Regions from separate parts of the Homo sapiens genome. Here regions 2, 3, 4, 5, 6 and 7 are each linked to region 1. The links are contacts of gene promoters, found by promoter capture Hi-C in blood cells and fetal thymus (Javierre and others, 2016). All regions are on one chromosome and are shown on one strand. Each heading gives the region's core, a stretch centred on a gene start or on the middle of the fragment in contact. The rest is flanking DNA. Distances are from core to core; before and after follow the strand shown.

Region 1 (4,360 bases), core at 1,465-3,964:
ACAAATACAAAAATTAGCCCGGCGTGGTGGCATGCACCTGTAGTCCCATCTACTCAGGAGGCTGAGGTGGGAGAATCGCTTGAACCCAGGAGGCAGAGATTGCAGTGAGCCAAGATCGTGCCACTGCACTCCAGCCTGGGCGAAAGAGCAAGACTCTGTCTCAAAACAAAACAAAAACTGTTAAGGTCATCAAAAACAAGGAAGTTTGAAAAACTGTCACAGCCAAGAGGAGCCAAAGGAGACATGATGTCTAAATGTAATGTTCCAGCTTGGGTTAGATTTTGGCACAGAAAAAGGACATAAGGCAAAAACTAAGAAAATCAGAATAGGCCGGGCGCGGTGGCTCACACCTGTAATTCCAACACTTTGAGAGGCCGAGGCGGGTGGATCACCTGAGGTCGGGAGTTCGAGACCAGCCTGACCAACATGGAGAAACCCTATCTCTACTAAAAATACAAAATTAGCCAGGCGTGGTGGCACATGCCTGTAATCCCAGCTACTCGGGAGGCTGAGGCAGGAGAATCTCTTGAAACCAGAAGGTGGAGGTTACAGTGAGCCGAGATCTTGCCACTGCACTCCAGCCTGGGTGAAAGAGCGACAACTCCGTCTCAAAAAAACAAAAAGAAAATCAGAATAAAGTGTGGGTTTTAGTTATTGTTAATGTATCAATATTGGCTTATTAATTGTAATAAATGAACCATATAAGGAAAGATGTTAATAATAGGAGAAACTAGGTGTAGGGTATATATGAAAACTCTCTGCACTATTTTTACAAGTTTTCTGTAAATCTAAAATTGTTCTAAAATTAATTTTTTAAAGTCAAATAATTTACCTAAATCTATACAGCTAGTAAATACTCAAAGGTATGAGACAAACTCATAAGTTGAACCCATAAGTTGAAGTTTGAAGTTGAAGTTGAAGAAGTTTAGATGACTTCAAACTCTGTGGTTTTCCCACTACCCAAAACCTTTCTTAGTTTACCCTTCTGGGATTATGTAGGCATTTGTATCACTGTCTAAATAATAAGTTCCTTATGGCCAGAGAAAATACTTTTTTCTTTCTTTTTTTTGCGCTTCCACACCACTGACGTTGAGTAAACCAGTTTAAGTTAACTACTGACAAAGTCACAGAGCCTAAAGAATCTGAGATTTGGCCGGGTGCTGTGGCTCACGCCAGTAATCCCAACACTTTGGGCAGCCGAGGCGGGCGGATCGCTTGAGGTCAGGAATTTGAGACCAGCCTGGCCAACATGGTGAAACCTGTCTCTACCAAAAATACGAAAATTAGCCCGGCCTGGTGGCGCGCGCTTGTAATCCCAGCTACTCTGAAGGCTGAGGCAGGAGAATTGCTTGAACCCAGTAGGCGGAGGTTGCAGTGAGCCGAGATCGCACCACTGCACTCCAGTTTGGGCGAAAGAGCGAGACGCCGTCTCAAAAAAAAATAAAAAAGAATGTGACTTTTGTAGAACTTGATCAAATCCAGACCCAAACGGTCCGCTCCTCGGAGAGGCCACAGATCGGCGCTGAGCTGGGCTGTCTCAGTTCTGCAAGTGTCCTGTGCTGCCATCTACCGGTGTCTGGGAAGCGTCGCCCTCCCTTATTGTATCTCCTGGGGAGAGGTTGGAGAGGGCGCCGCTTAAACTGCAGAACATATGTAACTGTCATGCAGTTCATTAGACACCTGTACAAGGGAAAGGCCTCACTTTTCTCCAGCAATTGCAGGCCCTCCTAACTCCATATCAACACTCATCTCGTAAAATTCACAGATCTCGCTGACCTGCCTCAGTAGGTACTGATCTGACTCCTACTGTCCATCCCATCCCAGAACCCACACCCGCCTGCACAGCGTAGGCTTCAGAAACTGCTCAACCTCGCAGACCTGAACCCCACCGCCCAGATTCCCTCATTTTCACAGACCCCTGAGATTCCTTGCACTACCTTGCAATCCCTACGGACCTCCCCTATTAGTGCAAATGCACGCGCCCACCCAGACATCCCTACAAAGAGGTTAGAGTTCCGGCGGCAGCTCACACCGGTGCGAAAGCAGCGAGATAGCCCCAACCCGGCTCAGAGCCCTCAGGCTGGTGGCTTTGGCCCTGGCTCCATCTCCCCACCTCTGCCCTGATCCGCTCCGCTCAGGCTAGCAGCCTGCCGGCCGAGGCCCCGCCCCTCTAGACTTGTCATCACAGAAGCCGCACGTGGCCGGGGTGGGACCTCAGGCGACCTGCGACCATCACTTTGTCTCCTCCTTCCTCCTTTGGGGCCGCCACCGCCAATCAGAGCCAGCGGATCCTGGTTGGAGTGCGACCGCCCGGGTGAGGCGTGAGGGAGAAGGGGCGGAAGGAGGAGGGGCTCTGAGATGGGAGGGGGATCGTGGTGGAAGGGTCTTGGCGCGACTTCTGCCAGGCTGGAATCCGAGGGGGCGGGTCCTGGTGAAAGGCGGAGAGACCGAGAGGAGGCGGGGATCGGGGGTGGGGCCTGGGAAAAGCTGAGGATCCTGGGGAAATGCAAAGAAAACGCGAAGGAGGTGCGAGGTCAGAAGGGGGCGGGGCCCGGGCTACAGGGGAGGAGCTCGAGAAATTAAACGAGGAAAGGGACAAGTCCACAGAAGGTGGAAGGTGGGACAAGGGAGAGGGTGGGCCCGGGCGTTGCGGGGGCGGGGCTCAGACTGAAGGGGCGAGGTTTGCAGGCGGAGGCTACAGCTAGGGCTGCTCAGTAACTGCCCCAACCACTACCACGTCCCCAAGTGCAACGGGACCCACGGAACTACAGGTGTGGGGCAGGGTGAGCGTGGAAGAAGGGACGCGGATGGGGGTGCGCTTTGCAGACGATCTGGAGACTGCTGTGTGTTGAGGGAAGATACGAAGTCGCGGGAGCAGTTGGGGACTCAATGTGTGGGCAACAAGGTGCATTCTCCAGAGGCCTCTATGGGGGAAGGGCGGGAGCGCTTTGTTGTGGGGGGGTTGCGAGGTACATTGTGAGGGGGCTGTCTCTGTCTGATGTGGGGGGTTGGAGGAGGTACATGAGGGGCAGGGGACATGGAGGTGCTTTGAAGGAAGGGGGGCTGTTTAATGGAGAAGGAGTGTAGCGGTGTCGGAGGGTCTGCGGGCACTATCTAGGGGAAGGGGTTGTAGGCCCAACTTGAGGCAGGAGAACAGAACCCCCAGTACTTTGACAAAGTAACAGTTTAGGGCATTGTAGTAACTACAGGAAGACACTTGTGTTCTGGGTTCTAAGAGCAAGGGTGTTGGGGTTAGTGGGGTGAAGAGGCCAATCTATTGCACTCCTGTCTGCTCAGCTTTTAACTCCGCCTTCTGGCCTGGGCACTCAGAGAGGAGTCAGACCCTGCTTGTCACTAGGGCTTGTGTGAATGTCTCCTCAGTCTATTTTGGATCTGTCCAGCTGAGACTGGGGTTTCTTCCCTAAGCTGAGGTCCCGGGGGACCCTTCCCCCGCTGGGTTCCTGTCAACCCCCCATCCTAGTTCCTGTTCCTCCCAGAGCCGGCCTTGGTCTCTGTCTCCCCCCTCCCCCGCCCTGCCCTTATGCTCTGGGTGTGCTCATTTCCCACTTCCTTCCTTGCCCCAGGGCCTGGCCTGGCCCTTGCCCATCTAGGAGCTGTGCCCTGCCCGGTACTTTGTTATCAATGACCAGAGACCCTGGTAACCAGCGGCAGGGCTCAGACCCCACCCCCACCACTACCACCCAGGTCTCTCGCATAGATCCCCAAGTGACTGGTAGCCACATTTAACCACTTGCCACAAACAGATTTTCCCCACCCTTATCCTTCTGGGTAGGGAACGCTAGGGCTTCTGTGGGAGGGGGGAAGTGGTGAGGAGTATTGAGGGTCTTCTGTCTGTTTTGAGAGGTGGGCCACGACTGTAAGCTGAACCCAGTAAGGGTTGTGAGGTTCCAGCCACAGCTAGGGGAGGAAGAGGGAGTGGCTCCCCACACTCCAGGCTTGGAAGCACTATCAGAACAGGCTAGGACCTAGTTCTCTTGAGGGCTCCTCTGCTTCCCTGAGGGGATTTGATGGAGTGCTAGAGTTCTTTTTGCCCCTGGGCTGGCTGGGAGAGGGTGGGAAAGGCTTGAGTTCCACACAGTGGCTAAATGAGTGTGACAGTGTTGCTAAAAGGGGCCCCAAGCCAGCCTCCTCACACAACCACCCAGGAGCTGAGAGACTGGCTGGGGAGGGGGGTGGGTCTGCTGAGGACAGACAAAGCCCTGGGGTAGGGTGGGGTAAAAAAGGGCAGGCTGAAGCCTTTTGAGGAGGAGCTGATTGCTATGGCAACACTGCTTCCCAGACAGTCTCTCAGAGAGGGCGGGCCTAGGGCAGACTCTCCAGCTTCCTCAGGACTGGGGCG
Region 2 (3,884 bases), core at 9-2,508, 340 kb before region 1:
CTGTGACCACTACCTGGCAACTGCCTATGTTCACTTCAAGCCCCAGGGTTCCACAATCAGCAGATGGTGAAGCCAGCCAGGCTTATGTCCTTTCCTTTAGTGCAGCAAATTTCCTCAGCCCCTGGGGTGTCCGGAGATGCAGCCTGGGAGCCAGGGACTGAAGTCAAAAACCTTAGAAGTCTACCTGGTACTGTATTCTACTATGGCTGAGCTGACCCTTAAACCATAAGACAAAGTCCTTCCCACTCTTCCCTCCCATTTCCACAGGCAAAGGAGCCAGTGCCCATGGCCACCATCAAAGACCTATAGAGGGTACTGCCAGGCTACCACCAATGTTCACTTAAGGCCCAAGGGCTTAATCAGCTTGTGTTGAATACTGTCAGTCATGGGACTCACCCTTCAGGGAAGTGGGCTCCCATCTGGCTCAAGGCAGGTCCAGAAATGCCATCCAAGAGCCAAGGCTGGAATCAGGGGCACCAAGGACCCACGTGATGTTCTACCCCACTGTGGCTGAGTTGGTACCTAAGCTGTAAGACAAAGTCCTTTTTACCTTTCCCTCTGTTTTTCTCAAACAGAAGTCTCTCACCATAGCCACCACGGCTGGGAATGTGCTGGGTCTCACCTGAAGCCAGCACGTCTAGATGCTGCCACTCTACAGTCTCACCTAAGGCTCACAATGTACTACCTGGGTATCGTTGCTGGTTCTTTAGGGCCCAAGGGCTCTTTAGTCAGCAGGTGATGAACCTGCCAGGACTGGGTCCTTCCTTTGAAGGCAGCAGGTTTCCTTCTGGTCCAGGGTGTATCTAGATATGCTGTCTGGGAGCTAGGGCCTAGAATGGGGGCCTCGTGACTCTGTCCACTGCCCTATGGTACTGTGGCTGACCTGGTCTCCAATTTGCAAGACAAAGGCCTCTTTACTCTTCCATCTCCTCATGCAGAAGAAAGGAGTCACTTTTGTTACTGCAAGCTGTGCTGCCTGGGGTTGTGGGAGGGGTAGCATTAGCACTCCCTTCTCTGCTCTGGCTGGTGTTTCACTAGGTTGTGTGCACCCACCCCGACCCCCTATGTCCACTGGCTCTGAGCTCAGTACAGCACTAGGGCTTGCCTAGGAATGGCAGTCTTTGTGGCCTAGACTGCTTTCAAGCTTGTTTAGGACCCCAGAGCACTTTAGCCCAAGGTGGTGAGGCTTGACGAAACTGAAGTTCTGACTGCTGGGATGGGCGATTCCCTTCTGGCTAGGGTTGGTCTAAATGCTCCCTCTATGGGTGGGTGTCAGCAGAGTTCAGCTTGGTTTTGCTTTCCACTATGACAGAACAGCACTGAGTTCAATGCAGGGTTCCACAATTGCTGTGCTCTCCCTCCCCAAAGCTTACAAGTTCTCTGCACCATGCATGGCCACCAGGAGATGGGGGAATGGTGGCATCAGCAATTCAAGATTGTCTTCAATGCTTCTTTTGGTGATATGATGTTAAAACCAGGTATTGTGATTGTTCGACTCATTTTTGTTTCTTATGAAGGTACTTTTATATGTGGATAGTTGTTAAATTTGGTGTTTTTGTGGGAGTGTGTGTGGGGGGGGTGATTAATAAAGACTTCTATTCAGCCATCTTGTTCCACCTGTGTTTTTGTGTTTCGTTGTTGTTTTTTATAGAGATGGGGTCTCACTGTTTCCCAGGCTGCTCTCAAACTTCCAGGCTTGAACAATCCTCCTGCCTCGGCCTCCCAACCTGCTGGGATTACAGGTGTGTGCCATCACACCCATTTGAAGACATCCTGTTTTGAAGACAAGCCTAGGCTAAATGACCTAGCTTACTGTCTAATGATGTATGTTGCTAATGTTGTCAAAAGCATATTTGCCCATGTTACCTTCCTTAATTCTTGACCATGATTGTCTTCTTCATTAAGAAACTAGGAAATGGAACTTTGATCAACTGCTGAAAACTACTTACTCCATAATAGAAAGAGAAGTATAATGAACGAATACTAGATTCTGAGCTGAATGAACCTTCCTAATTTTCTAAAACCCCTTTTGCTAGATCCAAAGGATTTTGAAAAGGATCTGGGATGTTTCCCATAATAAAGAAAAAAGGCAGTTTATAATTCAGATATTAATGATAAGAGTGTACAAAGAAAAGGTTTTTTTTTGAGTTTTCAGAGTCTAAATAATAGAGTAAAAATAAACATGAAAAGTTATGAGATCAAGTGTAGGCATTACAGGAACTGCTCAGCTATGCAAAGAAGCTGTTTAAGAGAGGAAATTAATCTGTCTATAACTAATAAGAATAAAGGCAGCTTATATCAGACAGCATAGAAATAATTTATTAACTAGTCTTCAATTTAAACATCTATTATCAAAGCTGATTATTATATATTGCAGTGCTTTTCAAATTTCACTTCTTAATAGAACCCCCTTCTATTTTTACAACTGAAATTTCATAAAATAGATAAACATGAAGCTGTTCTTTTTAAAGCAAGAACTTCAAAATGAGGAGGATAGAATAAAATCCACTTGATCTTCCCTATTCCCACTGCACCAGACCTTAAGACTCCTCTAAGAAAAGAGTTTGAAAATCATCAGTTCAAACAAGGTGTTCTATTAGTCTAAGTAAGGTTTTATTAAAGTGGTCATGAGTAAAACTGATTATGAGAAAATAAAAATATGTCTTAATTTCTAAACTGGGTCCTTGATCCATTCTTGTACCACTAATCAAAGCATGATATCTTTTTAAACACTTTGTGACTATTCTTCCTAACAGGCGTAAGCTAGACTCTCTTGTAATTTGTCTGTTCTTTTCTGCCTCAGATCTTAATCTCTGGGATCCTAAGACTGCTTGAGACTTTTTTTTTCTGGTTTTCCTTTTTATTTAATCAAAGACTGGTGAATAAACATAAATACAGCACAATTACTTCAGATCATTCTTCATATCGTATACACACAAACCCATGAACATAATCTGAAAGAAACCTGTAGACAGCAATGAAATGCATACAGCTTTTTCTTCCCTCGCTCAAAAAAAAGTTTAAACACACAAACTTAGAATCTCATCAGCACACACTCTCGTGACAAATGATTCAGACATAAATAGTGGGTGCAAAGAAACTATATGCTAACATATGAATAACCTTTGTTAATGAAAAAACAGAAGCAGCCATAATGATTAAGATACATTCAGTTACCGATAACTAGTTGTGCCCCAAAGGGCATTATCAAAAGAGAAATCGTGCTGCAAAGAAAAGCAATATATATGTACACAATGAGAAAATAAACTGCAAGATTAATGCATGCATATTTAATACTGGAAAAATCACAGTCCACCAAAATTTCTGCACGTTTGTTATAAAAGCCCTCTGCACTCAACTAAAATTAAAATGATCTTATAAGGATAATACTTGTAAAGTTTAAGTCTTCTCAGCCACAGAAATTGCAATGGAAATAAATGTTCAGAGTCATTTTCAAAACAAAATCAAAACAAAAATCTATTCATCCGATGACATGCAAGATACACTGCTCTACTTTCCCAATGACTAGGGAAAAAAAAACCTCAAGTCAATTTTTAGTTTGCAGATGATCAAGAATTTTGTATTCCAGCAGGAGTTCAAATCTTTTGGATCTTCTCGCCAACAACTACTGGATTTTCTTTTCTGATTTTCTCAGCGGCATCAGCTTTGTAATTTTAAGAGCAATTGTGTAGATCTGAGTAACAGTGTACACCACAGTAAACATTTCTACACCGCATTCAAACCTAGTAAGTCCCACTTTCTTCCTGCACATGAAACAGAGATTCTTTTTTTGTTTTGGTTTTTCAAGAGACTTGCTTTGCTCTTCAGATGGCTGCTGTGCCATGTCTGATACTGAAGCCTGCAGATCTTCTGTTTCAGGTACT
Region 3 (3,778 bases), core at 764-3,263, 300 kb before region 1:
CCACCTTGTCTTCCCAAAGTGCTGGGATTACAGGTGTGAGCCACCGTACCCGGCCACTGGGAACTTTTGATCTGTCTTTTCTAAACAACTTTATGAGGTAAAATTTATAAACCATACAATTCACCTATTGAAAGTATAAAAATTAGTGGTTTTTAGTATGTTCACAGAGTTGTGCAACCTAAATGTCTACTTTTGTGTTTATTTAATGCTCTTTTGTAGAGTATTCTGTTACTAAGACTCTGATTAACTTTCCTGTCTACATGCCACAATATCTATGCCCTCTTCCTTCCTAGAGTCCTTTTTCTTTTTTTCCTTTTCTGTCCTTTCTTTTTAGTTTCTCCAACTTAGTTATTTTCCATTTGTGATTACACTTTTTTCTTTTTATTAATTTTAAGAATTACCCAAAGTAATATAAAAATACATTTCCACTGTAAAAGATTCAAAAACAAAAATATATACAGAAAAAATTTAAAGTTTCCTTTCCTGTGCCTTCCACTCCTTCTTTTCCTAAGGAAACCACTATAAATAGATTGGTGTATATCCTTTAGGTCCCTTCCATTTCAAGGAATTTATACACAAATATTTATGTATATATACACATCTCTCTATATATATATTTTTAATGAGATCCTACTACATGTATTGCTCTGCAAGTTACCTTTTTCTTTTTACACTATGTATTGGTCATCTTCCCTTGTCAATATGTATAGATTTACTCCAACCTTTTGAATTACTACCTAGTATTATTAAGCTACCTTTTGATAACTGTTGATAATTTTTATTGTTGTCTTGTGGTGGTGGTGGTGGTGATGAAGATGGTATTTACAGAAGTGTGTGGAAGGTAAAGGAAAGGGAAAGGAGAAATATAATAATGGGACAGTCTTGCAAACTCTCTAGGACAGAGAGAACTCTGAAGGCACTATGCTAGGCAGACAATCTAATGGAATCACACAACATAGATGTAAAACAGCAAAGCATGTCAAGGCAGGGTGTACATAAGATGTTAAATGAATTGTAGAGACCCAAGATAATTAAAATTGTATGTCCACACAAAAACTTTTACACATGTTTACCGCAACATTACTCATAATACCCAAAAAAATGGAAACAATTCAAATGTCTATCACCTGATGAAGAGATAAGCAAATTGTGGTATATCCAAACACTGGAATAGTATTCCGCCATAAAAAGGATACATACTACAATAAGGATGGGCCTTGAAAACATAAGTGAAGGAAGCTAGTAACAAAAGGCCACATTTTATATGATTCTATTTATATGTCAAGTCCAGAAAAATCCATTAGTGGTTGCCAGGGTATAGGAGAGCAGAGGAAAGAACTGAGAGTGAATGCTAACGGGTATAGGGTTTCTTTCTGGGATGATGACAATGTTCTACAATTAAGTTATGGTCATGGTTTCAAAACTCTGAATATATTAAAAATCACTGAATTACATGCTTTAAAAGGGTGTATTTTGTGACATGTTAATTGTATCTCAATAAGGCTATTATTTTAAAAAACTGGGCCAGGCATGGTGGCTCACACCTGTAATCCCAGCACTTTGGGAGGCCACTTGAGTGGCCTCCCACTCAAGTGGGTGGATCACTTGAGCCCAGAAGTTTGAGACCAGCCTGGGCAACATAGTGAGATCCCATCTCTATAAAAAAGTACAAAAATTAGCTGGGTGTGGTGGCATGTGCCTTTAGCCCCAGCTAGTTGGGAGGCTGAGGTGGGAGGATCACTTGAGCCCAGGAGGCTCAACCAATGAGCCTCAAGTTGCAATGAGCCAAGGTCACACCACTTCACTCCAGCCTGGGCAACAGAGTGAAACTCTGTCTCAAACAAACAAACACTGTAGAACCCAAGCACTACAGGAATTCAAGAAGGAGAGATAAAGGGGGGCAGGGCAGAATTGTTGGAAAGAGCTTCATGGAGAAGGACTTGCACTAAACTCAAGAGACGAACACAGGTTAATTAGGTAGAGATGCAGGGGACAGTTCTGTAGGCAGGAAAAAGGACTTAATGAAAGGGTTGGCATTGAGACTAGACAAGTTGTATGATAGTACAGTAAGTACGAAAATCTGAAGGAGGCAGAAAACAAGAACTTCAAGTCAGGACTTTAATATTAGGATAATGATATTAAACTTTATCTCAGAGAATCCTACAAAGATTTTGAGTAGGGGAAAATGTGATAAACTGGAAGTTCAGAAACATTAATATGATAGATTTACAGGGGAACGGAGTGCAGACAGAAAGACCACTTAAAAGACGGCTATAATAGTCAACACTTAAAATGATGAAAGGCTGAACTAAGAAGTGGTAGAAAATAGAAAGGAGAGGCCCGGCATGGTGGCTCACGCTTGTAATCCCAGAACTTTGGGAGGCCAAGGCGAGTGGACCATTTGAGGTCAGGAGTTCAAGACCGGCCTGGCCAATATGGCGAAACCCCGTCTCTACTAAAAATACGAAAATTAGCTGGGCATGGTGGTGCATGCCTGTAATCCCAGCTTCTTGGGAGGCTGAGGCATGAGAATCACTTGAACCAGGAGGTGGAGGTTGCTGTGAGCTGAGATCGTGCCACTGCACTCCAGCCTGGGCAACAGAGCAAGACTCTGTCAAAAAAAAAAAAAAAAGAAAGAAAGAAAAAGAAAAGAAAATAGAAAGGAGAGGGTAGACAACCAAGATGTTAGAACTGGCCAGTATTTATGTACTGTAGATTTTCCAACCAGAATAGGCCTGAAGATTCTGAATATTCAAAATAGTGTTACCTGCCAAATGATTGGGTTTAGCACTGTCGTTTTGTAAATTCAGTGGAATAGGCCAAAATCTTGGGTAAACCAGTATTAATTGCTTACTGCTCAAAATAGCAGAAGCAGTAAATCTACCTGCAATAGGTAGTCCTAGCCTACCTGTAGGGATTTACCAGGAAAACTGGTTTCAACTCTTTTTCCTTGGTAAAAGGTTTGGCTTTTGAAATAACACACATTTATAGATGAAGTTCTTAATTATCTTTCTGATTGAAAGTGTCAAGCTCTTATAGATTATTTTGATTATTTTTTACACATTTACCAGTGTTTATCATGTGGCAGATACTGTCCTAAATGCTTTATAAATATTACCTAATTTAATCCTTACAGCAACCTTATGTGGCAGCACTTTTATTATTATCCCCATTTTACAGAGGAGGAACTGTAGCAGAGAAATTAAGAGATTTGCCCAAGATAACGTGGTAAGTGGTGGAGCTAGGATTCAAACCTAGACGGTATGACTCCAGAATTCATGCTCTTGACTACTATACTTCCCATATGGTATTTATTTCACTGCATTTATGGCAGATATTTTATATTTATTGGTGCTATTAAATATGCTGTTAATTAATGTTTCCCCTCGCTAAACCATAATCTCGCTAAGAGCAGAAATTCTGTCTAGTTTTGTTGCCATTGTATTGCCATACCTAGCACAGTGGCTCGCACTTATTTAATAATCAATAAATATTTGTCGAATGAATTGATCAGTCTTTATTGATGATTATTACATTTTTCATTTGCCTGGAACTTACCACACCCTAAAGTATTCTGGCTCTCCATATTTTCTGTTCATAAGAATATGCAGAGCAGTTGATTATCTTCTGGGTCCTTTAGCCCTTTAGCTCTCCTGAGGGTAGCAGAGGACTCCCTGGTTTTCCTTTGGATGGAAGTTTCCTGACTTTCTACTTCTGGAACCAGGGCCAGTGTCCTTGACATGGGCTTCCTCCAGGATGAAATCGGACAACTGCCCAA
Region 4 (3,943 bases), core at 1,337-3,836, 430 kb before region 1:
GCCTGCCTCAGTCTCCTAAAGTGCTGGGACTATAGGTATGAGTCACCACGCCCAGCAAGTGCCAGCTACCACTTTTATTCCAATGACTTTCCAATCTACACAGTGCTTTCTCCTGACTTCAGGAAGACACCCCTTCCAGTCCATCTTCTACCCAAACAACCAGTGATCCAATTACTTTTTTTTTTTTTTTGAGGTGGAGTTTCGCTCTTGTTGCCCAGGCTGGAGTGCAGTGGCGTGATCTCGGCTCACTGCAATCTCCATCCCAGATTCAAGTGATTCTCCTGCCTCAGCCTCCAGAGTAGCTGGGATTACAGGCATGCGCCACCATGCCTAGCTAATTTTTGTATTATTAGTAGAGATGGGGTTTTACCATGTTGGCCAGGCTGGTCTTGAAAACCTGACCTGAGGTGATCCGCCCGCCTTGGCCTCCCAAAGTGCTGGGATTACAGGTGTAAGCCACTGTGCCCAGCCCAATTACTTTTTTTTTAAACAAGGCCTGAAGGAACAACCAACCAGTGATCTTTCTAAATGCAAATCAAAACATATAATTAAGCAGACAGAAAAACCAAACCAAACAAAAACAAACAAATGCCAAAAGCCATTTCTCTAAAATTTTTCAGTGGTTCCACCTGTGTTCCACTATGGCTTCACCAAATTATATGCAGTTCCTAGAAAGGGTCAAGCTATTCTGTGCCTTTGTGGTTTTGTACAGACAATCCTGTGAGCCTAGAACATTCTTCTTACAAGTCGTCACAAAGCCCAATCCTAATCATCTTTCTAGATTGGGCTTAAATGTAACTGCATTAGCAGTTCCTCCCTGACGTTTCAGTCTGATTTACATACCCCTTTCACTGGCCAGTACGGAACACTGCCATCTCTGCATTTTAATGATCAACTACGTTTTCTGTTTCTGTCCTTAGCTGGAATCCTTGAAAACAGAGTCATCCCTCTCATCTCTCTGTCACTAGCACCACCTTAACACACTGGTATAAAATATTTATTTAAAATGTAACAAAATAAATAGGGAAAGAGCTGGCCTAGGGAGGCCACTGCACTCCAGCCTGGGCGAAAGAGCAAGACTCCGTCTCAAAAAGAAAAAAAAAAAAACTTCACTGACGCCCAGTGTGTGTGTGTTGTTGTTGTTAGACATATCCCTTGGTTGCCCCTTAGGCACTGCAAACTCCTAAAGGTCTGAACCTGAACTTTTCTTCCAGGAAATCTCCTGTGATTACAGCCCCTATCCATGGCCTCATCTTTCCCATCATCCAGGTTCAGAATCAGTCTTCTGAATCCTTCATTTCCCAATATGTCAGCCTCTAAGTCCTGCTGATTTTATCTCCTCAGTGTATTTATTTATTTTTTTTTTTTGAGACAGAATCTCACTCTGTCTGCCCAGGCTGGAGTGCAGTGGTATGATCTCAGCTCAGTGCAACCTCCACCTCCTGGGTTCAAGCAATTCTCCTGCCTCAGCCCCCTGAGTAGCTGGGATTACAGGTGGGTGCTACCACTCCTGGCTAGTTTATTTTTTATTTTAGTAGAGCTGGGGTTTCATTATGTTGGCCAGGCTGGTCTCAAACTCCTGACCTCAAGTGATTCGCCTGGCTTGGCCTCCCAAAGGGCTGGGATCACAGGTGTGAGTCACTGCACCCAGTCTGCTCAGTGTATTTTTGAGTCCTCTGTCTTTCTCCAGTGAGCCTATTCCACTGTAGCTGTGGGTCCTGCCCTGGCCTAGAAGGATAACAGATCTAGGATGTGGAACCTCTAGTGGTATGGATGGGGTGGTCTGGCAGGGACCTGTCAGGGAGGTGGCCATGCATATCCTGCTGGTGAATAGCCACATATTTGCTAACCCTTAGGCTCCTTACCGTCAGCTCTAGCTCTTGCATCCCTCTGGGTATGGCTGTTGGCTGGGCTCCCTGGGAGAGCAGGCCCTGGATCCATCAGCTGAGCCAGGGGGCCTTGCCCAGTAGCTCTGAGGCCAGCAGGAGGCATCTCACTGGAGTGGGGTCCCTGACAGACCTGGGTGGACCAGGGTGGACTTGGGTCTGGGCCAAGTAGGTCCATGCCTGGCCCCAAAGGCATGGGTGGCAGGCTATGGCTACAGCAAGTGCCCTCATCCAGTGGGGCCCCCCGATCTTGCTGGGCTTCTTGGATGGGTGAGAACTCCTGGGAGGAGTCCCCAACACTCACACGAAGTGGGGGCGAGCCAGAGCCTCCAGTTTTCTTCCGGCCCTTGGCCAGCTCGGCAAAGGAGGTGACCCTCCTGGGTGGGGAGCCAGGCCCGGCCATGGCTGCAGGGCCCTCACTCAAGCGCACTGGGCAACTCAACATACGTTCCAGCGAGCCCAGGCGGACAGGAGGGCTGCGCTGCAGGCTGCGATCATAGCTGCGGGAGCGCTGACGTCCAGTGCTGAGGTTGGGGGGTGAAGTATTCGTGTATACTTGTCCCTCAAGCACAGTGGGGCCCACAGCAGCTGCTGCTTGGGTGGAGGAACTCACTGCTTCTTGTTCCTCTGGCTGGACTTCTGGCTTCTGGAATAGGTAATACTCAGAGGGCTGGCTGGGGCCTGGGTCTGGGCCAGGGCCTGGTGGGGGACTTATCTTGGTGTGTTCCTCAGAGCAGCTAGTGATGGAAGAGCCAGCAGGGCTTGGGGATGATTGGGAAGATAGGTCACAGGTGACAAGTTTATAGTAATTTTGTGTGGCCACAACAAGACGGGCCTGGCTTTGGAAGCAGGCTGTGAGGTCAGCCACTGCTGGGCACGGCTCACAGTGTGGGCGGTAGGAGTTGCAGTTGGCATCAAGCTCAGGAGAAGAGGCATGAGGGCAACCATAGCCCCCTTCCCTTCCTCCACTTTCAGGGTGATGGGACTCATAAGACATCTTAGACTCAAATGGGGAGGGCTGCAGATCCAGATAGAAGGCGCCAGGGTCTGAGTGGCTGCAGAAGGAAGAGTCGCTGCAGGACTGTGGGGCAGAGTTGAGATTGGCACGGGGGGTGCCATGCATCTTGTTGTAGAGGGTGCTGAAGGTGACCAGCACACCATCTGAACTGTTGCAGGAGGAGTCGCTCACATAGCCCATGGACTGGTCAGCTGCCTCGGACTGACTGGATGTGCTACTGCAGCGGCAGTGCTGGTCCCCTGAGCCGGAGCATCCAGGGTTCCTTGGGGATTCATCTGAACTGAGCTTCCATTCCTGGTCAAAGGAAAAGCCAGAGGTATCGCTGGCTCCACCCCCACTGCCACTCCCACCAGGTCCCCCACACTCATCCAGCTCCATAGTCTCTGCTTCCAGCTCTGGCCGGCAGCAGTGGCTGGTGCCGCACTGCTGAGTATCCAAGGTCATCACTGGCTCCTGTTCCTGCCCTTCCACCACTCCAGCCCGACTGCGTGTTGTCCCCCATGGCCTGCCCACTCTGGGGCCAGATGGTGGCAGCTGGAAAGAGGATAGATGAAAGTTGGGCTGGCCAGTGCCATGCAGGTGGAAGGACTGCTGGGTGGCACTGTCACCAATGCTGTCATCATACAGGTCACCAAGTCCTGGCTCACCCACACCCTCCTGCAGCAAGAAGGGGTTGTGTCGTTTGGGGGCTCCAGGGCCTCTTCCATCCCGACTCCTACTCTTGGTGCTGTCTATAGACCGTGCAGTTCCTCCTGGAGTAGAGTGCAGGCTGCTGAATAGCAGGGAGTCAGCTTGTCCTAGGTCTTGATCGGGCTGGGTGATGCCCAGCTCAGGTGGGCAGAAGGGATTAGGTCTTGTGCTCCCACCACCTCCACCTGCCCCTCCACAGCACTGCCTGTCTGGGACTTGGCAGTGCACCAGGGGGATGTGATGAACGATGAGGGTCTCTCCAGTCAGCTTTGGGGGACTATCCATTCTGGAAAGTTCGAATAAGGGCTTCAACAGCACCAGACACTGTCCCTGGAGCCCAGTGGGGCAG
Region 5 (3,980 bases), core at 675-3,174, 350 kb before region 1:
TCTTTCTTAGCAGGGCTAAGCATCTGAAAATCAGAGTGTCTTCCTTGGGATTCTACCCTTCTGAAGGACCCTTCCCACCAGCCAACCCATTGTAATGCTGACTTTGGCCATTATCACCCAAGGCTTTACCACCTGGACCCAGATATACTTGATTAACTTTTTTGAGTCATACCTGGCTTTTATTCTTTTTTTTTTTTTCCATAATGTATCCAGGAAAAGTTACAATTTTGGAATTTCTGCAGTAATGCAAGGTGTGATAGAGTAACAGTTAACTTATAAAAGGCTGTGTTGGCCCAATTGGAGGATTATTGCTCCTGTCACATGGGGAAGACAGAGAACCTTGACACACTCAGAGTTTATTTCAGAAGAAGGAAAGAAGCTATGAAAATCAGGAATAGTTTATGGGCTGACCCTCTGATAAATTTCCAGGCAGAGCCAGCCTGCCTGTGGTGTGTCTCCTCCCACAACAACCTCTTCTCATTTTATATAAGTTTTCCCTATTGCCTCTGTCATACTCCTCTTCTGCTCCAAATAGCGTCCATTATAGATTCTTTATGGCTAACAAGCATGTTCATTTTAAAACAGTGAAGACTTTTAAGGGGTCTCCTTCTTATCATCATTCATACTTAATGTGTGTTAGTCTGCTTTATTATAAGAGTGATTATTAGTAATCCCTGTCTGAGACAGCTGCACTGACAGATGGGGATTTTTTCCTTTGAGGTGAGGAAGGAGGTGCTCAGGTCCTCATCATTGACTCATTACTGATAATCTCTATGCCTGGAGTTGGGACCCCTCCCATCCTTTACCATATCAGCCACCATAGCAATCTCTCTAAACCTTAGCACATAGTAGATACTCAATAAATATTACTAAATAAGGTAATCTAGTTACATAGGGTCCTTTTTTTTTTATTGCCAAAAAGCCCCGGTACAGGGTTTAGAAAGCCTGGAAAGGAGGAAACTAAAATGTGTTTGGGTGTGTGTATGTGTAAGGAAATGCAGAACCCAGAAAAGGATGATCAGAGTAGGGTAAATACTTTTTTCAGCTATTTCAAATTTTCATTCAAGGTGCTTATGAAAAAGAGGAAGGGAAACCCTTCCTCTTCTCTTCCACAACTTTTAGGAGTTGAACTTAGGTCACAATTACACCTATCTACCATCTGTCACACTGTTTGTGTGGGAAAATGGATTCTGAATTCTGATTAATTGACTTACAAGTGAATGTTTGGACCTATCTCATTGGTAAACTATGGGCTGCCTGGCCTATCTTCCTGGGGAAACTACCCATGCTTTAAGCATCACCAAATTTGTGTGTATGTTTTCTAGTTATTTCATGTGTTTTTATGTCTTATTTAGCCACTTACTTTATAAGTTATTTGAGGGCAGGGATAACTGTCTTTTTGTATAAACCACATAGTGTCTTCCTAGCACAGTATTCTGGACATGGAAGGCATTTATGCAACCTCTAGATATATCTCAGAGCATTTTGTACACCACCTACTGTGGAGAGTGAGGGGTTAAAGAGCACAAGTGTATGCTTTTTAAAAGTTCACACTCTGGTTGGGGAATTAAGTAGACAGTATGAAGTCAGCTCCTCCCCCACACCCCAAAGTGATCAAAGAAGCCTACCTGACATAGAGGGAAATGGGCACCATGGTATTGAGAATAATGAAGTAGGACCAGAATATGAGGATGGCAGAGACAGCTGATGAAGAGACATATTTTACCCATGGCAGAAAAATCTGGAAGTGGTAGCATTTCTTGTTCTGCCAAATGCCATGCCCAACTGCTAGGACAAAACACACGATGCCTAAAACCAGGAAAATCGATACATGAAAAAAAAAAGAATTAAATTAACATTTTATCCAACATATGTGCTGCTTCAGTTCTACAGTCTAGAGCCTTATCTCTCAGCAAAGCGTCCCTCTCCTAGGAGGGCAGGGAGGCCCTATAGTTCACAGTCTCTAGGCAGCAGTACATAGGACAGAAAAGAAAGTCCAGCAGAAGCCCTCCTTGGGATTTTCAAGGGAGATAATAGTAATAAAACATAGTAATAACTAACCAAGTGCTAGGTACTATGCTAAGTATTTATACATATTATTTAATATTTACAATAATCCTCTTTTAATAATAGATGAGGAACTTAAGAGTGAGAAAGAATTTTGTCTAAAGTCACTTAGCTACTGAGTAGAAGAAACAGGTTTTGAACCAGTTCCAGAACCCAAGCACGTAATCATTCCATTATTGAAGCTGCTTTAACAGAAGTCTAAAACGTGTGGGGCTTAGCAGTTAGGGGGTGGGTGATAAGGAAACTGATATAAAAGGCTGAAAATATGGTAGTCATGTTAACATGAAAGAATTTGATAAAACTGAAAGGTAGACCATATGCCTACTGAACCTGCAGCTCTAAGAGAAGTGGTTAAAAAGAATCAAAATATCATTGTGTATTGACTGCCTTTGACAGGTATTAAAAGAAAGAGTTGGTTGGGTGCAGTCACTCATGCCTGCCATCCCAGGATTTTGGAAAGACCAGACAGGAGGATTGCTTGGGGCCAGGAATTTGAGACCAGCCTGGGCAACATACTGAGACCTCATCTGTACTAAAAAATTTTTTTTAAAGTTAAACTAGGGAAAGAATTAGCCAATTTGTAGGCAGAAATAAGGAGGTACAGAAATTTGGGGCATCAAAGAACTACGACTTCTAGACACTAAACAGGAAGAGATAAGATTGAGACCTTAAGCAAAAAAGGCCCAATAATTGTTTTCAACTGAATAAAGTGACTCAGCCTTCGGGCAAAGTTCAGGTTAAAGGTGATACCTTCTTACCCATGACTATTATTCCGCATAGCCTCAACTTTCTTGCCAGTAAGTTGAGAGAGAAGGGCATGGAGGGGCAAGGAAGCAAAGAAACAGGATAAACTCAAAAACTACGTCTAGGAAAGAATTTTGGGGGGCAGGGGGTTACTGATACATGAAACTAATTGGAAGCAAACAGATGAGAAGCCTTATGGGTTTTGAAGGAATGGTATTACTAGATAACTATGAGCCTGGTCTAAAAAAGCCTGTGACTGTTTGGAAATCCTTAAAACCACACTGGGCAGGAAGCAGGTTATAAAAACTGCAGTCCCTAAGAAGAGCATACTCCCCAACATCCACTTCAGGGTTGGTCAGCAAGGATAAAGAATGAGGGAAAACTTCTCAGGAGTGGAGCCAGAAATCACTGAGAGCAATGAATAAAGGAGATCCTCTCACATCTCCAGACCAAGAGGAACTTCATTTAGATCTGATGGAGAGGACTGTGCATCAGTGAGAGATCTTGGACTCTGAGTTGGATGCAGAGACTGGGTAGGATTTGGGGGAGATGATGAGGGTGTTCCATATGTGGGAGGAAAAGTGAAATGGTATGATGATCAGAAGGGTAGATTGTGGCAGCGATAATGATATGTATTCATTAAATTCTATTTTCTTTTCCTTCTGAGCACATATCTAGAGCACATTTCCCAAGCTCTCTTGCAGTTATATGGGTCATGTAACTCTGTTCTAGCCAATGCAATGCTGGTGGAAGTGATTATGCTACTTACACGCTTGGCCCTAAAAATCTATTATGTGTGGCCGGGTGCAGCAGCTCACGCCTGTAATCCCAACACTTTGGGAGGCCGAGGTGGGCAGATCATGAGGTCAAGAGATTGAGACCATCCTGGCCAACACGGTGAAACCCCATCTCTACTAAAAATACAAAAATTAGCGGGGTGTGGTGGCACACACCAGTAGTCCCAGCTACTCAGTCCTCAAGGCTGAGGCAGGAGAATCGCTTGAACCCAGGAGGCAGAAGTTGCAGTGATTCAAGATCGCTCCACTGCACTCCAGCCTGGGCAACAGAGCGAGACTCCGTCTCAAAAAAAAAAAAAAAGAAAAGAAAAAAAATCATGTGTGAGTCTTCCTATTCTCTCTTTTTCCCCATCTGCTGGTTGAATGCAGGGA
Region 6 (4,368 bases), core at 94-2,593, 460 kb before region 1:
TGAAAACCCCAGAGCATCTGGGAGTGGCCTATCATACCAATGCTGGAAACCCAGAGTGCCTGTTTCAGCCAATGAGGGTCCCCTCACCAAATGCCAAAAACCTGGGGGCACCAAGGGAGTGGCCAACAGTGAACCCAAGACCAAGTTGGGGTCATAGAACAATGTGACTCTGGTGTCCCAGAGTTGACGCAACAGAGCACAACTAAACATCCAGCCTTAAACAATTGCTCAAACACAGTTAACAGAAAGTCAAAAGGAAACATAACGCTTCAAATGAAACGTAAATTTTTGGACTCGAAATAAAAATAAAATGATTGGTGGAACAATAATATGGAGTCAGAGAAGAAAGCACAGGGGGGAGAGGTCACAAGGATGTGCCTCAGGGCACTCATACTGTGGGGGACTTTTAACCACTTAGCCGAAGGCTTTTTATTCCCCAGCTCACTAGATGTTATGGAGTAGGGGAAGAAGGGACACTTACCCATCCATAGGAGCCAAATGGCACCAGCCAGTCTTTCATGTGGGACCCTGGTGAAGGTCCCTCCAGGACCCCCCAGCTTGGGTGGGCTCAGCTGTCACACAGGGGGCAAGCATAGGGACTGGTAACCCACTGGCCTGCCATGGTCAGAGCTCACATGAGGCAGTGACATTATGGCCATTAGTGTGTCTGCTTGGCCCTGCCGCCTGCCAGGGAAAATGATGGCTCTGAAAAGAGCCTTTGGTTAGTGTTAGCAGCTCTTTATTGTTACAGCCTCAGTGTTATAGCTCTTGCAGCCTTGATCACAGACCGCTTTGCGGTCTCTCGCTGTCTCTGCTTGGTCTTGTCAGTCTCTCACTGTCTTCCCAGTTGCTGTCTCTCATAGTCGTCACCTCTCCACTGACCGCTGATTGCCACCGTCTCTGCTGTCCCACCATCTCACCTGTCTGCTGACTGCCACTGTCTCCACTGACTTGCTGCCTCTTGCTCATTATCTTTTTCCTTTCATTGATCACCAGATGATGGGAGGGCAGGTGAGCCCCCAAATTGGGGCTTAGCCTTGGGAGGTTCTTAGCTTTGCCCAGGAAAGAAAATCCAAGGATGAGCCAGTGGTGTTAGACAGCAACTTTTATTGAAGCAGCAGTGTATACTTAAAAAATTTGGTAACAGAGTACATCTTTCTTTTCCCATTATGCTCTTCCAAGATCCTAATAAACCTGCAGAGGTACTGGTCCTTGTGGAGCAGGGCTGTCCTATAGGCTGTATGCTCAGAGCAGCAGCTCAGAGGCAGTGCTGCATTCAGATTTATACCCACTTTTAACTACATGCAAATTAAGGGGTGGACTATGCAGTAATTTCTGTATGTAAAGGGTGGTAACTTCCAGTTCATTGGGTCATTGCTGTGGAAAGGGGTGGTAACTTCTGGGTGTTGTCATGGCAATGGTAAACTGACATAGCACACTGGTGGCCATGTCATATGGAAAACCACTTCTGCCCCATCCCTGTTTTAGCTAGTCCTCAATTTGGTCCGCTGCTGAGCCCTGCCTCTGGAGTCCAGTCCCACCTCCTACCTCATTATCTTGATAGTATTTCAGACTACTCAGGTAGAGTGAATTCCATCTGCAAATCACGCATGAGCCAGCTTGTAGTTATGAAGTTTTAGGGGAAATATGTCCCCCTTTTTCACTTGGTACCAAGTTTTGAGATAGGCAATTTTCTTTGTAGTCCCCTGAGGAAGGATTTGGGGGGCAGATGGATTTCTAGGGGCAAGGTGGGGTGCGGTGACTCATGTGTATAATCCCAGCACTTTGGGAGGCCAAGACAGGCGGGTCACTTGAGGTCAGGAGTTTGAGACCAGCCTGGCCAACATGGTGAAAGTTAGTCTCTACTAAAGTAAATACAAAAATTAGCTGGGTGTAGTGGCGGCGCCTGTAATCCCAGCTACTGAGGTGGCTGAAGCATGAGAATTGCTTGAACCCAGGAGGCGGAGGTTGCAGTGAGCCGAGATTGCACCACTGCCCTCCAGCCTGGGTGACCGAATGAGACTCCATCTCAAAGAAAAAGAAAAAAAAGACTAAAGGGACATAACTTGATGCATGCCAGTTTTATGCAGGAAAAATTTTCTGTTAGACTCTCCATCTTGGGTGGTCACTGAGTTTTATCTCCTTTTCTCAGTACTTCATGAACCTGTGAAAATGAACCTCCAAGTTTGTGTGGCTTGGCCAATGCCATTAAGCCAAAAGTGCCTTCTATCCTTTGCCTAGTTTTTGGCCTCTGATGATTTCCCTTTTTAAAAAATCACTTTATTGACATACAGAAAGTTGTACAGCAGGTTCTCAAATGATGTTTCACTCACTGTTGTTACTTTATAACATTGATATGAAAAAATATTTTATTTTTATCATTTTTTAAACTTTTTATTTTTATAGAGACCGGGTCTCTGTCACCCAGACTGCAGTGTGGCGGTGTGATCATAGCTCACTTACAGCCTCAAACTCCTGGGCTCAAACGGTCCTCCCACCTCAGCCTCCTGAGTAGCTGGGACTACAGGTGTGTACCACCTTGCCTGGCTAATTAGTCCAGATAATTAATTTTAATTAAATTAATTTTTTAAATTTTATTTTTTATTTTTGTAGAGAGGGGGGTCTCCCCGTCTTGCCTAGGCTGGTCTTGAACCCCTGGGCTCAAGTGATCCTTCCACCTCAGCCTCGTAAAGTATGGGGATTACAGGCGTGAGCCGTTGCACCTGGCCAGGGGAAAAAAAGGTTGATTCAGGCCAGGACCACTGTCTATATGGAGTTTGCATGCTCTCCTCATGTACGGTAAACTCTCGTACCCATCATTTCACATCATTTCTCTGAAAGTTGCAATTTCCAAGAACCTATTGACAATACTGAGGACTTACAATACATATTTAGTGTATACAGCTTGAACTTGGAGGTAAGTATAGAACCATGAAACCAGCGCTATAGTCAATGCCGTAAACATATCCATCATCTCCAAAAGTTTCCTCCTGCCCAATTTATTTAGTGATAAGAACACTTAATATAAGATCTACCATCTTATGGTTTATTAGTATCTTAGAAGAGCATAATGGAAAAAAAATCTACCCTGTTAGCAAATTTTTAAATATACATTTTTCAGTATAATTTAAAAAAAATTTTATAATAATACAATATTATTAACTATAGGCTCTAAGCACAATGTTGTGCAGTAGATGTCTAGGACCTACTCCTCTTGTATAACCAAAACTTTGCACCCTTTGATGAATACCTCCCCCTTTCTGTCTCTCCATAGCTTCTGGTAATGGCCATTCTGCTCTGCTTCTATGAGTTCGACCTTTTTTTTTTTTTTTTCCTTTGAGACAGTGTCTCACTCTGTCACCCAGGCTGGAGTGCAGTGGCATGGTCTCGGCTCACTGCAACTTCCACCTCCCAGGTTCATGCAATTCTCCTGCCTCAGCCTCCCCAGTAGCTGAGATTACAGACATGTGCCACCACCCCTAGCTAATTTTTGCATTTTTAGTAGAGATAGAGTTTCACCATGTTGGCCAGGCTGGTCTTGAACTCCTGACCTCAAATGTTCCGCCTGCCTTGGCCTCCCACACTGCTGGGATTACAGGCATGAGCCACCACACCTGTCCTTACGTTTTATTGTTTTTGTTTTGTGTTATTTTTGAGGGGAAGGTATGTTCTTGAAGACTCCTTTCTTTGTGAGAGCTGCAACACCTCACATGACCTATGTAATATATAGTTGATTGCTGCAGATAATCTTCTGAACTATCTGCCATAATGCTGGAAGTGGAAGTCCTCCAGTGTGTCATCTAACTGGTAATGCTGCCTAATAAAGCTATTGATATTTGAATATATTTTTCAGGTAATAAGCATCTTACAGTACTCTTATTAGTTCTCATTGTTCTTCAGTTGCTTCTCAGGATTTTGTAGTTAGGCCGATGATGATTCTTTTCTTTCTTTCTAATATTTATGGTTCTTATTAATTATTTTTGTTTTATGCATTGTCTATAGTAACTTTGAATAGTAAAGGTGATAATGAGCATTCTTGTCTTGGTTCTGACTTTTATAAAGTGAAGGACTATGAATCCGACATGCTGGCATTCATCTTATGCCCATGGCAAACAAACATAGTTAATCCTTCTTAGTACCTTTTCCTGCTAAGCTATGGCCCTGTTTCAGAAGCTCCCCAGTAACATTCCCATAAGTGACTATAGCTGATTTGATTTGGTACAACAGATAAGATTTATTTCCCAGTCCTCTCTCTGATGTTTCTTCTGGATATAGTTTGATATTGGCTATTCATTTCAAATATTCTTTATCATGTTTATATTCCTGGTTTACTAAAAGTCCTTTTTAAGGAGAATCACAAGTAGATAT
Region 7 (3,811 bases), core at 1,280-3,779, 370 kb before region 1:
TCTGCTGAGTTATTTTGTTGTTGTTAGGATTCCCTTCTACCCCATCACCTAGCTCTATCAGAGCAATGTTGACATCTGGCTACTCAAAATGATGCTCTCGTTTCGTATGACGGACTCATTTGACAAAAATTATATTAAATGCCAATGTCTGAATGGGTGTTTTTTTTTTTTCCTGGGTAACTTCAACACTGATCAATCAAGACCATTTCTAGATAGCCTGCCCTTACCCTAACATGAAGTGAACCATCTCTTCAGTCAAGTGACTTTTAGCAGGGTGCATAGTCATTGTGTATGAGTAACAGGAAGAAAAGGGTGAGTTATTATCCTAAATTTGCAGATAAGCCCAGAGAGAAAAATAGAACACATAAGCCCTCCCATGAACTTGCCAGATTTAGCAAGTAAAAATACAGGACTCCCTGTTGTTTATTTGAAATTCAAATTTAACTGGGCACTCTGCGTTTTATCTGGCAACACTGAAGTATTGGAGGTGAGGAGAAAAATAACCCAGGGTGTTCTGGGGTAACTGAGGTCTTAACAGGAAGCCTAGACAGGAAAAAGTAGAAAAGGCCATTAAAAAGATACTGTTAAAAAAAAATTGTATTGCTTAATCCATCCAGATCAGGAGCCCCTCCCCACACTGGGTTTCTATGATCCAAGGCTTTATTTTGAGACAGAGCATTGCTCTGTCACCCAGGCTGGAGTGCAGTGGCATGATCTCAGCTCACTGCAACATCTGCCTCCCAGGTTCAAGGGGTTCTCCTGCCTCAGCCTCCTGAGTTGCTGGGACTTCAGCCTCCTGAGTTGCTGGGACTACATGTGCACACCACCATGCCCGGTAATTTTTGTATTTTTAGTAGAGATGGGGTTTCACCATGTTGGCCAGGCTGATCTTGAACTTCTGACCTCTAGTGATCCGCCCACCTGGGCCTCCCAAAGTGCCGGGATTACAGGCTGAGCCACTGTGCCTGGCCTGATCCAAGACTTTATAAAGACATGTAAGAGGGTGGGAGACAGAAAGCGGAAAAGGATACATCAAAACTAGCAATGGATGAATGAGAACATGTCCAGCCTCCAGTTAAGGCAACTGTGGCTTCAAAAAGGAATCTTAAATACCAGCACAGAAATCAGAGGGATCCTAACCTGGCTCAAAACAGAAGAGAAACAGTGGCTGGCCATACAGCAGGACGGGCATAACTAACAGAATACCAGGTATACTGTTTGGATCTGCTCTTCCTTCCATTAAGCCATCCACCACTGCTTAATATCTAAGGAGCCGGCTAAGAAAATCCAGTCACTACTTTTATTTGCTAATACTTTGAGCCCCAGTTACAATAATGCCACTACTAATTAGGTAACTACTTTCTACCTTATCAACTCCTACAGCTTTCCAGCCATTGTTTCATCCCTCAGCGATACCACCTGCTTCCGCGTGGAACCCAAACCCCCAGGAAACTAAATCTGCTCAGGTCACCCACCTAGGAATAAATAAAAACAGGTTTCAGGCCCTTTGTCCTTTGTAAATTCCGCCTTTTTTTTTTTTTTAAGGCCTGTGTTCTTTATCACGGACACTGTTCACATAGTGGTAATCCTTGCCTGACTCAGATCTACTTGTTCCTGCGTTTCATTCCTCCGCTGCTCAATTACTTGTTCAAAACGCAAAGGACAACTGGTAGTGAAGACCCTCCACCAGCAACACTACCATGTGCCAGGCACCGTGCTGGGGACCGGGGATACAAAGATGAGTAGTGTACCGTCCTTGCCCCCAGGACAGTTCCCCGTGTCCGCAGGGCCGGCCTGGAGGGCCACAGCCAACTGTGGGCAACAGGATCACCGTGCCCTTCGCGGCAAGTGAGTGCAGTAGTAGGGGACGGTTACTGCCAAGCCAAAGGTTTTCTCCAGGTAAAACTGGATGACAGAGAGACAGAGACTGAAGCAACGCCGGCGCCGGGCGGATAATAAAGGGAGGCAGGGGCTAAAAGGGTGGAGGGAGCAGAGGACCCGGCCGGGAACTGGCAGTAGGGAGGCCCCCGCTGCAGTCGCCGGCCTGGGTGCCGGGCGGCCACGCTTCCCCAAAGCCGTCACAGGGACTTGGGGTACCAAGGTGACTACTGGGCGCGAGTCGTTTTGTGGGGGGAGGGTGTCCCCAAGGGGGCAGTTTGAGGAGACGGTTGGGGATGCATCTGGGGTGGCGCCCAAAGGGACGGTGGGTGCTGGGTGTTTGAAGGTCCGGTGGACGCAGAGCTGAAGGGTCAGGAGAAGGCCAAGGGTCAGAAGGGCTGGGGACGAGGTCTGCCCAGGGGGTCGGGGCGGACGCAGAGGGCGGGTGCAGCCGAGGGGGAAGGGCTGAAGGGAAGGGCAGGCGCTGAAGGCACATAGGTGGGAAGACAGGCCCTCCCCTAAGGGAGACCTTGGAACGCGGGGCAGTGGGTCTGTGGGACCCTGCCCGCCTCCGGAGAGGCGTTCCTACCTCGTTTCTCGCCTCAGCCTCGTCCTTCCGCGCCGGCGGCGGCGGCGGCGGCGGCGTGTCTCGCCCTCCAGGGGTCGCGTTGCAGGCTAGAGGCGCCGGCGGCCCCTCCCTCCGGGCGGGTTGGAAAGGCCGGCCCCTGTCGGCGTGGCGCGATGGTCCGATCTGGGTTGCCCTCAGGCCGCCCCTCCGGGCGGCGCGTTGGTTCGGTCCGCCCGGCCTAAGGTGCTCGCCCCCTCCCCGGCTCCCGCAGCGATGGGCGCAGCCGAGTCACGCGCAGAGCTTTCCCGCTAAGGGAGCGGAGAGGCTTCCGCCGTGGCCCAATCTTCTGCGGCCCGCGCCCGCCCCCGCGGGGTGGTGCCTGGCGACGCGCGGCTCCCGGGTGCTGGAACCCAGGGAAACCTTCCGCGGGCCTCCAGGGCCGGTGGGTGTGAGTCCCAGCTTCGCCTGAGGCGGCGGTTCTCAACGCTGGCTTCCCAGTAGAACCTAGTGTGGAAACTAACCAAACAACAGAAGGAGGGCTGACCTCACACTGGACCGACTCAGAACCACTGGGGTGGAGTGGGGTGGGGTGAGGTGGGGTTGGCCTCCAGTGCATAGCCAGGGTTCGGAACCCCTGATGAAACGTAGAACCCATGCGCCCCCTGCCCTTCAGGGCCGGATGTGTGGGGGACATGGAAGATGCCTGTGTGTGACTCCTGCTGTTTACAGCCAGAGGGGGATGGGGCAGGCAGTCCTGCAAATGTTATGGGAAACCCACTGTATTAGTCCGTTCTGACACTGCTATGAAGAAATACTATGAAGGAAAGAGGTCTGACTCACAGTTCCGCATTGTTGGCGAGGCCTCAGGAAGCTTATAATCATGGCAAAAGGCAAAGAAGTAGCCATCCTTTTCGCAGGGTGGCAGGACAGAGTGAGTGCAGGCAAGGGAAATGCCAGACGCTTATAAAATCATCAGATCTTGTGGGACTCACTCACTGTCACGAGAAGGGCGCAGGGGAAACCAGCCCCATCATCCAATTACCTCCACCTGTTCCCGCCCTTGACACAGGGGGATTATGGGAATTACAATTCAAGATGAGATTTTGGGTGGGGACACAGCCAAACTGTTACAGGTAGTTAGGCATGAGCGGGGCAGGAGAGGGTTCTCCCCTGCTACCCACTAGGGATGTTGGGTGATGGTTCTGAGGCAGGAGAATAGGGACTGGAGGCAGGGAACCTAAGACTGGTTCATGCCAACTTCCTGGAACTAAATTGAAAGGAAAACCCTAACTTTCCACACCTAAGTAACAAACCCCCCACCCAACTTTTCTGCCCAGCAGATGGGAAATTGGCTATCTGCAACCA

The links. Contacts are between HindIII fragments. The CHiCAGO score rates a contact against its expected background, and 5 or more counts as called.
Region 2: a fragment that was not itself captured here is called in contact with the fragment with the promoter of ATOSB in region 1 in 1 of 17 cell types (M1 macrophages); the score reaches 5.8 in M1 macrophages.
Region 3: a fragment that was not itself captured here is called in contact with the fragment with the promoter of ATOSB in region 1 in 1 of 17 cell types (M2 macrophages); the score reaches 5.4 in M2 macrophages.
Region 4: a fragment that was not itself captured here is called in contact with the fragment with the promoter of ATOSB in region 1 in 7 of 17 cell types (M2 macrophages, M1 macrophages, M0 macrophages and 4 more); the score reaches 9.9 in M2 macrophages.
Region 5: a contact is called between a fragment that was not itself captured here and the fragment with the promoter of ATOSB in region 1, in 9 of 17 cell types (M2 macrophages, megakaryocytes, M1 macrophages and 6 more). The highest score is 13.8, in M2 macrophages.
Region 6: a contact is called between a fragment that was not itself captured here and the fragment with the promoter of ATOSB in region 1, in 2 of 17 cell types (M1 macrophages and M0 macrophages). The highest score is 5.7, in M1 macrophages.
Region 7: a contact is called between the fragment with the promoter of RUSC2 here and the fragment with the promoter of ATOSB in region 1, in 9 of 17 cell types (monocytes, megakaryocytes, M1 macrophages and 6 more). The highest score is 14.3, in monocytes.

The regions. Positions count from the first base shown.
Region 1 is chr9:35,114,216-35,118,575 of GRCh38, reverse strand. ATOSB (atos homolog B) reads left to right here and starts at 2,714. Exons shown (of 9, transcript NM_025182.4): 1 at 2,714-2,771. RefSeq lists a silencer at 2,510-2,569 and an enhancer at 3,903-4,360. The HindIII fragment of the contact is 12,182 bases long and covers 1-4,360 here.
Region 2 is chr9:35,450,070-35,453,953 of GRCh38, reverse strand. It overlaps the pseudogene ATP8B5P and the pseudogene ZFAND6P1. Among named protein-coding and RNA genes, the nearest start is that of RUSC2, 38 kb to the left of the region's middle. The HindIII fragment of the contact is 224 bases long and covers 1,147-1,370 here.
Region 3 is chr9:35,410,324-35,414,101 of GRCh38, reverse strand. It overlaps the pseudogene ATP8B5P. Among named protein-coding and RNA genes, the nearest start is that of RUSC2, 78 kb to the left of the region's middle. The HindIII fragment of the contact is 5,623 bases long and covers 1-3,778 here.
Region 4 is chr9:35,546,458-35,550,400 of GRCh38, reverse strand. RUSC2 (RUN and SH3 domain containing 2) reads right to left here. Exons shown (of 12, transcript NM_014806.5): 2 at 1,866-3,943. The coding sequence starts at 3,879. Among named protein-coding and RNA genes, the nearest start is that of CIMIP2B, 15 kb to the left of the region's middle. The HindIII fragment of the contact is 7,783 bases long and covers 1-3,943 here.
Region 5 is chr9:35,466,973-35,470,952 of GRCh38, reverse strand. It overlaps the pseudogene ATP8B5P. Among named protein-coding and RNA genes, the nearest start is that of RUSC2, 21 kb to the left of the region's middle. The HindIII fragment of the contact is 5,907 bases long and covers 1-3,980 here.
Region 6 is chr9:35,571,918-35,576,285 of GRCh38, reverse strand. No RefSeq gene overlaps it. Among named protein-coding and RNA genes, the nearest start is that of CIMIP2B, 10 kb to the right of the region's middle. The HindIII fragment of the contact is 7,332 bases long and covers 1-4,368 here.
Region 7 is chr9:35,488,829-35,492,639 of GRCh38, reverse strand. RUSC2 (RUN and SH3 domain containing 2) reads right to left here and starts at 2,529. Exons shown (of 12, transcript NM_014806.5): 1 at 2,468-2,529. LOC105376026 (a long non-coding RNA gene) reads left to right here and starts at 1,013. Exons shown (of 2, transcript XR_929580.4): 1 at 1,013-1,209; 2 at 1,384-1,521. RefSeq lists a silencer at 2,561-2,860. The HindIII fragment of the contact is 5,552 bases long and covers 1-3,319 here.